Regions from separate parts of the Homo sapiens genome. Here region 1 is linked to region 2. Evidence: promoter capture Hi-C in 16 types of primary human blood cells and fetal thymus (Javierre and others, 2016). All regions are on one chromosome and are shown on one strand. The core of a region is centred on a gene start or on the middle of the fragment in contact, and the rest is flanking DNA. Distances in the headings are between cores, read along the strand shown.

Region 1 (4,824 bases), core at 1,677-4,176, 500 kb after region 2:
AACCTAGTCCCTCATCAGATAACCCTGATTGTCTCAAATATGTTCTTTTACAGTTGATGTGTTTGCATCATGACCTAAAAAGAATCTGCTCACTGCTCTGGTTGTTACGTAGGTATCATTTTTTCTGAAATTGCTTCTGCGTTCCTGAAAAGGTCATACGTCTTTTCCTCTTTTGATATGTTAATACAAAGAACTTTATGAATCAGTTGTCTAATGCTAAACCAATCTCACATGATTGGAACCAACCCAGCTTAGTTACTGTCTTAGCCCAGGTTTCCAAGAAGAGGGGGCCTGGGGAGCGTCTAGGTGCAGATGTTTTGTTGGGAGGTACCACCCCAGGGAAGTGAAAGGGAGGTGAGGAAGGGAGGGAGGGTACTTTGCAGAACTGGCTCTTCTCATCTCCAGGTGGCCAAATCTGCTCCAAAGGATGATGGCCTCCCTCACCCCGTCCCCAACTTTCTGACGTGTCTTTCTGGGCCCTTCGGGGAACCATGGGGAAGCAGAACCCTTGGGATCAAGGCAGCTCAGCCCGAGGCTCTCACCAGGATGGGTGGGGGCACCCCAGCCCAGGCTTGCCTCCCAGGAGCGCTAGATGGGACGATGGGTTCAGCTCTGTTACGTTTAGGATTTTCCACCTGTGCTCTGAATGCAGCTGGCCTGTAGCTCTCTCTTGTATTGTGCTTATCCGGTTTTGATACCAACGTTATAACCACCTTATAAAACGGGGGGTGGGCTGGGCGCAGCGGCTCACCCCTGTAATCCCAGTGCTTTGGGAGGCTGAGGAGGGTGGATGGCTTGAGCTCAGAAGCTTGAGACCAGCCAAGGCAACATGGCAAAACCCTGCCTTTACAAAAAAATACAAAAATTAGATGGATGTGATGGCACGCACCTGTAATCCCAGCTACTCAGGAGGCCGAGGTGGGACGATGACTTGAGCCCAGCAGGCAGAGGTTACAGTGAGCAGAGATTGCACCACTGCACTCCAGCCTGGGCAACAGAACCAGACCCTGTCTCAAATAAAAATAAACAAATAAAACGGGAGGTGAGGGAAGCATGTTTTCTAATTTTCTTTTCTTTGGGAGAATTTCTATAAAACTGAAACTGTTCTTACTTGTTGGTAGAAACTCACCAGTTAACATCTAGGAATGTTACTTTCTCTTTGGGGCTTTTTTTTTTCCTACTGATTCCATTTTTTAATGGCCATAGGACTTCTGGTTTTTAGAAAATCCTCCTTTGTGTAGGTATCACACTCACGGGCATGCAGCGTCCCCCGGGTGCTCGGATTCCTCGGTGATCTCCGGCCTCACGAGCGTGGTGGGCATTTTGTTTTTTTTTTTCTCATCCCTCTTGTTTATTTGTCTCCACCTCTTTCGTGATTAATTGGGGCGGTTTATCAATTTTATTAGATTTTGGCTTCGTTGATCCTCTCTACAGTATGTCGTTTTTTATTTCATTCATTTCTACTCATATCTTCTTTTTTTTTTTTTGACATGGAGTCTCCCTCTGTCACCCAGGCTGGAGTGCAGTGATACAATCTCAGCTCACTGCAACCTCCACCTCCCGGGTTCAAGCAATTCTCCTGGCTCAGCCTCCTGAGTAGCTGGGATTGCAGGTGCTCGCCACCATGCCCGGCTACTTTTTGTATTTTTAGTAAAGATGGGGTTTCACCCTGCTGGCCAGGCTGGTCTCGAATCTTTCTTTTGTTCTTTCCTCTGGATTTATTCCACTGCTAACGTTTGTAAATCTAACATGGTAAATTTGCTATGAGTTTTATCTTTTCTTTGCTCAGTGTCAGCGTGAAGATGGTCGTTTCCTTTTCTCACCATGGCCGCATCCCACAGGTTTAGCTGGAGAGCTGGGGCTCTTCCCGCAGTGCCCCGCAGGAGCCGCCGTGCAGCCCAGGGAGGGGCCTTCAGACATCCGGGAGCGAAGCCACACAGAGGCTTCTGCAGTCAGTCACCGGGCAAGACTCGACACTCACTGTGTGTTTGTTCTTAGCCCACCTGACCCAGAAATGACTGGAGGCAGGCAAGGGGGGCTCAAGCCCTGGGCATTCGCTGTGTTCAGAAGAATGAACAGTTCCTAGGCCAGTGCTGGAGGAGGGAGAGGAGCTGTTGCCGCATCACCCGTGACAGTGACGCTGCTGCTGTCACCACACCAGGGGTGTCCTGAGTGCTTCACCTGAGTGGACCCCGCACCCCGCACAGAAACCCTCTGCAGTCAGAACCCCGGCGACCCGGGTGCCGGGGAAGCAGCTGCGGCACCATCCGGAAAGTTACAGGAAGCTCCTGGAAGCTTCGAGAGGCAGTGCCCGGGCTAAGCCCGCCACGATGCTGCCCGCTTCGTGTGGTCTGAGCACGTAACATCTCCCTTAGCTTTTCTGCACAAAACACTGCGCTGCCAGTCCTCAAGATCCAGTCTGCGGTCCTGGCCTGCCCCGGGCACTTGTTTCCCCTTCAAAGACCTCTCAGCAGACAATTGTTTTTCACGCCCTCTGGAAGGGAACACTCAGGCCGCAGGTGACGGGCGACGTGGCTGAAGGCGTGGGACACAGTGGGTGCTTAGTCTCTCCTGGAATCAACCCAGGCTCGCCGAGGAGGCTGGACACAGCTCTGGGCGTGAGGACAAGGCTGGTTTGCCTTTGGTTCCTGAGCAGCACGGCCCACCTTTCCCCACCCAGAGGTTCCGCCCTGCCTCGAGGGGCAATGACACGGGTCGGCCAGGCCTGCAGTCAGAAGCAGGCGCTCTCAGAGCCAGGATCTGGATCCATGACTCCACGTGCCTGGTCAAGGCGAAGGCGCTAAGGAGCCCCCCAACCCCTGCTGCCTGTGGACACCTGGAGAGCAGTGCTTCCAAGGGAAAGCAGGGAGGTGGGCTGCTGGGGGGGTGTTGGCTCCCCACCTCGGGGGATGGAGAGGAGAAGGCAGGTGTGGGGCCTTTGGAAGGTGACCTGGGAAGCAGGAGTGAGTGAGGGGGCAGGAGGTGGGGTAAGGAGCAAAGCCACCGAAGGCTCCTCCATGAGAGGGTTGCTGGTGTAGGCAACTGGTACCAATCCCACTGAGGATGTCGACTGTGGCACTCCTAGCTCTCACGCGGGCCGAATGGACCGAAGCCCCAAGAGCAGAGAGGCGGGGAATGCGGCCCCTTGGAAACGGCCCCCTTAGCTTCCGTGGGCTCAGAGGCACCTGCAGGCTTCTGGCCAGGGCAGCAACAGGGTGTAGCACCAGCACCAGAGACCATGACACCCACCAAACCAGGGGCATCTGTCAGGGTTCCCAGAGGAACAGAACCCACAGAACAGAGCCGATAGGATAGGTGGACAGAAGGATGAATGGATGGATGGAGGGAAAGAGATTTATTTGAAGAAATTGGCTCGGGCAATTGTGGGGGTTGTCACTTCCAAAATCTGCAGGGCAGGCGGCAGGCTGGAGACTCAGGCAAGAGCTGACTGAGGTCTCAAGTCCAAGTTCTGCAGGGCGGCATGCTGGATACCCAGGCAGGGTTTCTGTATTGCAGTCTTGAGGGAGGTGCAATTCCTTCTTCTTCAGGAAAGCTTAGTCTTTGAACTTAAGGCCTCTGGCTGACCGGACAAGACCCACCCACACGACGGAAGGTCACCAGCTTTAAAAGTCTACTGACCTAAATACGAATCACATCTACACAGCTGTCCACGACAACATCCAGATGGGCGTTTGACCAAACCGGGCGCCGTGGCCCAGCCAAGTTGATGCATGACACAAACCGTTGCACCGGGGTGAACCCAGGAAGGTTAACACCTCACTAAACAAGGAAGGTGAGCCTTCCTGCTGCTCTCAGAGCCTTGAGGAAAGGGAGCGCATTCGGGTTGAGGAAACAAAACCTCTTCTTAGATGATTGCTACTAAAATTACCATAACCCCCCAAGAAATGGCTGCACCATGGGTGTTATTTTGTTTTTTTTTTTTAATCTGTTATTTTTGTACAGACAGGGTATCCTTATGTTGCCCAGGCTGGCCTCGAACTCCTGGCCTCAAGCGATCTTCCTGCCTTGGCCTCCCAAAGCACTGAGATTACAGGTGTGAGCCGCCACGCCTTGCCATGGGAGTTATTTTTCTCATGTGCAAAGATTTCGGTTTTCAGTCAGTGTGGGTCTGCACTAGCCGGGAAAACTGTCCAGAAACTCATTCGTGTCGAGAAAGAACACAGTACAGCCCTGGCGTCCAGAGCCACCCTGATGCTCAGGGCCAGGCTTTTGCTTTCCTCCTGGACGTAAACAACCTCCCGGAACGCCAGCTGAGACAGGGGCCACGAGACCATGGCAGAAGGAGATGAAGCAAGGCCACCCGTAATCGTGTCTAAGCACAAAAGCAAGGTCACCGCACAGCCCACGAAACGCTGGACGCCTCTCCTGTTGCTAAATGAGTGGCTGCTGCCCTGTTAGAGAATCCTACCGGGCCCCTGCGCCCTCACCACCCCAATCTAAAACAAACCCCACCTTAGGCCCTTTCCAAGCCACCCAACCCGTGTCCCCTAACACTCTGTTACTGAAACGCCCTCAGTTCCCCCACGGGGCATGCAGTCCGGCCTGGTCGCCTGCAGGCGTGTGTGTTGCTGCGGCCTCTGGCTGGGGGGTGCCGCCAGTGGTCTGCCCAGGGTAACTGGATACCGAGTGACAGCCGGCCACACGGGGCCCTGGTCACACACGGTGAACGATGACTCAGCCCTGGTCCTGGAGTATGCGGGAGCCAGGGGGCCCAGGCCCATCTGCAATTTCCCTTCCTGTTCTCACCAATCAGGCTGTGGCCCCATGACTCCACCAAAATGTCTCTCCACATTGCCACGCGCG
Region 2 (4,644 bases), core at 396-2,895:
CCTTTTTCTATCAGACTTCCCAGGAAAGTGTATTTTCTTTTTTTGGGTAGTCTGGTGATTTCTCTTAAAAATAAAACAAACTGAGAATGTCAGTGATGGGGGAGATAATATCTGTTCTTTTAAGCAGATTCTAAATGTATTAGTACCATCAGTAACTAAATAAAACTTTATCTTAAAACCTCTATTACACATTGTAGTTCATATTGTATGGGCTCACTCAAGAGTTTATAGAAAGTATTTTTGGATCAGGTAAATGAAATCATCCAACAGCAGTGCCGTTAAAATCTAAACTACAAAGCCCTGTGTGATCTGGCCACTGCCTACATCTCCAACTTCATCTCATAACACTCGCCCCCCCAACCCCAACTTATTGGTCTTTCAAACCACTCCTAGGGCACGTGAAGCTCTTTCCTGCCTCTGCATAGGCGGTTTCCGCTCATTTCTCTTCAGATCTGAGCTGATTATCAGCCCAGAGAGGCCTTCCCAGAACAGCCTATCAAGAAGAGCAACCTCCTTCCCTTTTTGCTATTATCTGGTTTTCTTTTTCCTTTTTTCTTTTCTTTTCTTTTTGAGACGGAGTTTCGCTCTTGTTGCCCAGGCCGGAGTGCAATGCTGCGATCTCGGCTCACCGCAACCTCCGCCTCCCAGGTTCAAGCGATTCTCCTGCCTCAGCCTCCCGAGTACTGAGATTACAGGCATGCGCCACCATGCCCGGCTAATTCTGTATTTTTAGTAGAGCCGGGGTTTCACCATGTTGGTCCGGCTGGTCTCGAACTCCCGACCTCAGGTGATCCGCCCGCCTCGGCTTCCCAGAGTGCTGGGATTACATGCGTGAGACACCGCGCCCGGCCTGCTACCTGGTTTTCATTTCCTTTACTACACTTACACAAGGTCTACTTTATTTGCCTGTTTGCCTCCTTGCTTTATTACTAATAGATCCTCGAGGGTAGTGATTTTGTCTGTCTTCTCTCCTGCAGCCCCGTCACGTAAAGGTGCTGGTCAAAGGAAGGCGGCAATCACCGACCGGACACCAGGGCAAATCAGGGCAGCCCAGTGATTCGAGATGCCGGCTGGGGAATCGGACCCATGTGGGTCTTTTCTCAGCTTCCCCGCTTACTGTGACTTTCATAAGTAACGGAACCCCCTCAACCCGTTTCCTTAAGTGTAAAAAGGCACTAGACACAGCAAGAAGCGGTTCCGGCAGCGCGGAAACCGAAGCACACGCTGGGTGTCACGACAACACGTGGAAGCCGCATTCCGTGCCGGGGCCCTGGCCCTAGCCCCAGCCCCGGCCCCCGGCCCGCCATGTGGCGCGGCTGACCGCGGCCGTGCGCCCACCTGTCTCCCTCTGCGTCTTCACGCTGATGTACTGGCGCAGCTTCTTCACCGCTCGGTCCCGGATGCCCTTCTCGCTGGACGCCAGCCGCTGGGCAAATTGGATCTCGGCCGGCTGCATGGCGGGGGCCATCGCGCCCGCTGGAGCATCCCCGGCCGCGCAACCCGCGGTGCCGCTGCAGCCAGCCGAGCGCTGCGGAGCAGCCAGCCACCGTCCGCCCGGGCCGCGACTGCACAGAAGGCGGCGGCGGCGGCGCGCGGGCTGATGGCGTCACAAAGGCGCCGCGGCTCGCAGCGCGCTCTGGGAGTGAGCGCGGCAGTGGCCCTGGCAGCTGGCGGAGCGGCCCAGCCCGTGTGCACGTGGCGCCGGCGCTGCCTTTCGGTTGCCAAAATTCAGGCTGTAGACGGCGAGGTTAGCCAGGGTTAGGACTTGACCAGGAAGAGACGGAAGGCTGTTTGTAAACGGTCTAGGATTTTTTGTTTGTTTTTGAGACAGGGTCTCCCTCTGTCGCCCAGGCTGGAATGCAGTGGCGCGATCTTGGCGGTGATCCTGGCTCACTGCAGCCTCGACCTCCCAGACTCGATCGATCCTCCCATCTCGACCGCCCAAGTAGCTGAGACTACAGGCGCGCGCCATCACGCCCCACTATTTGTTATTTTTTTGTAGAGACGGTGTCTCGCTATGTTGCCCAAGCTGGTCTCAAACTCCTGGGCTCAAGCAATCCTCCCGCGGCGGCCTCCCTGATCGCTGGGATTACAGGCTTGAGCCGCCGCGCCTGGCCACGGTCCAGGATCTTTAATCCCATTTAGCACACCTCGTTGAGCCAGCAGCTTACCTGCGATCTCCGTGGCGTGGAGTTTTTAACTGTGGAGCCCCCGGGCCCCCGGGTGGAGTTGAGACTGGAAGGAAAGGCCGGCACTGGGGCCTGTTGAGCGGGTGGAGGGCTCGCCTTCCTCCAGTGCCTGCAGAGGCTTGGGCAGATCGGTGCGCCCCTACCCCGGAGCCCTGGTGCCAGTGCAAGGGCGCCCGCGCAGGCGTCCCGAGGCCTGGCGAGCACGCGCGCTTCCAGGGGAGTTGGGCAGGGCGGGCTGCTTGCTAATTCCAGAGAGGGAAGAAATCTTAGCTTTGGGTTCATCTAAAACCCGAGGCCATCCTATATTTTGCGGACTCAGCGGGCGTGCTGGGGCAAGTTAATGGACTAGGTCACTCCACACGTAGCGGGGGTTATCTCAGTTGCTCCGCTCAGTTGTCTAGGCGACCTCCCGAGGTGCCTGTTGACACAAAAATTCAACCCTTAACGTAAAAGCGCCTGAATCCGAGCGAGGGAAGGCGCGCGGAGGCGAGGTTTCCAGCAAAGACTGCCCATTTGAACGCAGTCCCCCTTAGTGTAGCATTCCTCGCCAAACAGGAAAGGACCCATCCGATTTATTTTACTTGACACTTACATCAGGGGCTGACTTTCCTTCTGCTTTGCAGATAACAAGTTTAAAACCCCGGCTAAGCCAGAAGAGCCAAAGAGGGACCTCGCCAAGGCCACTCCTCGCTCTCTAGGCCGAGAATACTGCGCAAATTCTGGGAGGTTTGGGCCTGGCGGCTCTCCGTTCCCGACCCCCGGCGTGGATTCGTTCCCGCGCTTTCTGGCGTGAGGGGTCAGAGGGCGCGCCGACGCTCAGGCGAACGGAGCGGAGGCGGCAGCGGCCATGGGCGAAGCGGGCGCCGCTGAGGAGGCCTGCCGGGTTAGTGAGGAAGCCCTGGCCGACGCCAGCGTGTTTGAACCGTCGCCATTCGCTCCCCTCAGGGCCTCGCCCCGTGCGCTCGGAGACGGCTCGCTGTCGCGTGCTTGGGGGAAGCCTGGAGACTTCCTCCCCTAACGGCGTGGGCTGGGCCGGAGCGGGGTGGAGACCTGGGGCGGGAGGCGACTTCGCCTCCAAACCCACGCGGGGACCCGGTCTGTGAGGCTGCGCGTGGTGGGGGCACTCAGTGGCGCCAAAGCGGGCATGGGAGCGTGGGATGGATGGTCACTCTCTTCTCTGCTCCGTGGAAGCCCAGTTCCCCTCCGAAGGCCCTGGCCCCCTGCTTCGGGACTTAGCGTCAGGCTTAGAGAGAATCTGCCCTCCATCGATTTTATAACTGTAACTGATTGCATGCGATGGAGAAGGCGCTTGGACTGGGGCCAGATCCGTGTTCACATCCTGCTTCCACCCGTTATTAATTGTGCTGCATTGAGAGTCATCTAGCTCCCGTGCCTTAATTTCCATCTAGACAATCTTGGAGGCTTGGGGTGAATAGTAGATGAGATCACGGGCGGAGGGCTTGGCAAACCCAGTAGGAAACCAGATGACTTCCTTTTCCTCCTGATTAGTTTGGTGCTGCAGTGATAAAAAGTTGCAGGCGTTTTCTTTGACTTTTAGGAATAGAGCTCTTGTATGACTTTTCTTTTTCGTGGTCTTGCTCTGTTGCCCAGACTGGAGTGCAGTGGCACGATCATAGCTCACTGCAGCCTCCAACTCCTGAGCTCAAGCCTTCTTCCCGTGTCAGCCTGCTGCGTACAGGCGCCGGCCACCACACCTGGCTAATTTTTGTATTTTTAGTGAGATGGAGTTTCACCATACTGGTCAGGCTGGTCTTGAACTCCTGACCTCAGGTGATCCACCCGCCTCGGCCTCCCAAAGTGCTGGGATTACAGGCGTGAGCCACTGCGCCGGGCCTCCTGGGCACGTTTTCATATTTTTGTAGTGACAGGGTCTCTCCATGTTGCTCAGACTGGTCTTGAACTCCTGGCCTCCCAAATTCCTGGGATTTCAAGTGTGAGCCACCATGCCTGGCCTGTTTGTCCTTATTATTTTTAACATCTGGCTCCCTTTTTGAAGGCTGAAGCTTCAGCTTTCAAAATGTTTGTATGTACATAAAATATATCTATAGCAGAATATACAGTAGGTAGAGACATGATTTGAAACAACGATGCACATAAGAGGTGTGAAAGAAAAGCAAGTTAACTTGAGCTGTTGTTTTTTTTCTCATGTGAAGAGAAATATAATAAGATCTGCTTGTTCTTTTAGCACATGGGAACTAAAGAGGAATTTGTTAAAGTCAGAAAGAAGGATCTGGAACGGCTGACAACTGAAGTGATGCAAATACGGGACTTCTTACCCAGAATACTAAATGGGGAGGTGCTGGAGAGCTTCCAGAAATTAAAGATTGTAGAAAAAAGTGAGTCTTCATTTTCAGCAGTCATTGGTGGTAACAGTAATTTGTTCTAGCAGATTTACCCTAGGTAAATAATTGTAAACGAATTTTAAGGTACTCTT

The links. Contacts are between HindIII fragments. The CHiCAGO score rates a contact against its expected background, and 5 or more counts as called.
Region 1: a fragment that was not itself captured here is called in contact with the fragment with the promoter of HSF2BP in region 2 in 6 of 17 cell types (M0 macrophages, M1 macrophages, endothelial precursors and 3 more); the score reaches 9.7 in M0 macrophages.

What each region holds. Positions count from the first base shown.
Region 1 is chr21:43,153,958-43,158,781 of GRCh38, reverse strand. It overlaps LOC107987300 (a long non-coding RNA gene), which reads left to right. Exons shown (of 3, transcript XR_007067885.1): 2 at 54-108; 3 at 1,842-4,824. Among named protein-coding and RNA genes, the nearest start is that of CRYAA, 13 kb to the left of the region's middle. RefSeq lists enhancers at 1,504-2,239, 2,240-2,977, 4,093-4,763. The HindIII fragment of the contact is 1,258 bases long and covers 2,298-3,555 here.
Region 2 is chr21:43,656,489-43,661,132 of GRCh38, reverse strand. HSF2BP (heat shock transcription factor 2 binding protein) reads left to right here and starts at 1,645. Exons shown (of 9, transcript NM_007031.2): 1 at 1,645-1,747; 2 at 2,813-3,072; 3 at 4,396-4,546. The coding sequence starts at 3,037. RRP1B (ribosomal RNA processing 1B) reads right to left here and starts at 1,573. Exons shown (of 16, transcript NM_015056.3): 1 at 1,339-1,573. The coding sequence starts at 1,468. RefSeq lists an enhancer at 581-630 and a silencer at 1,351-1,540. The HindIII fragment of the contact is 5,137 bases long and covers 1-4,215 here.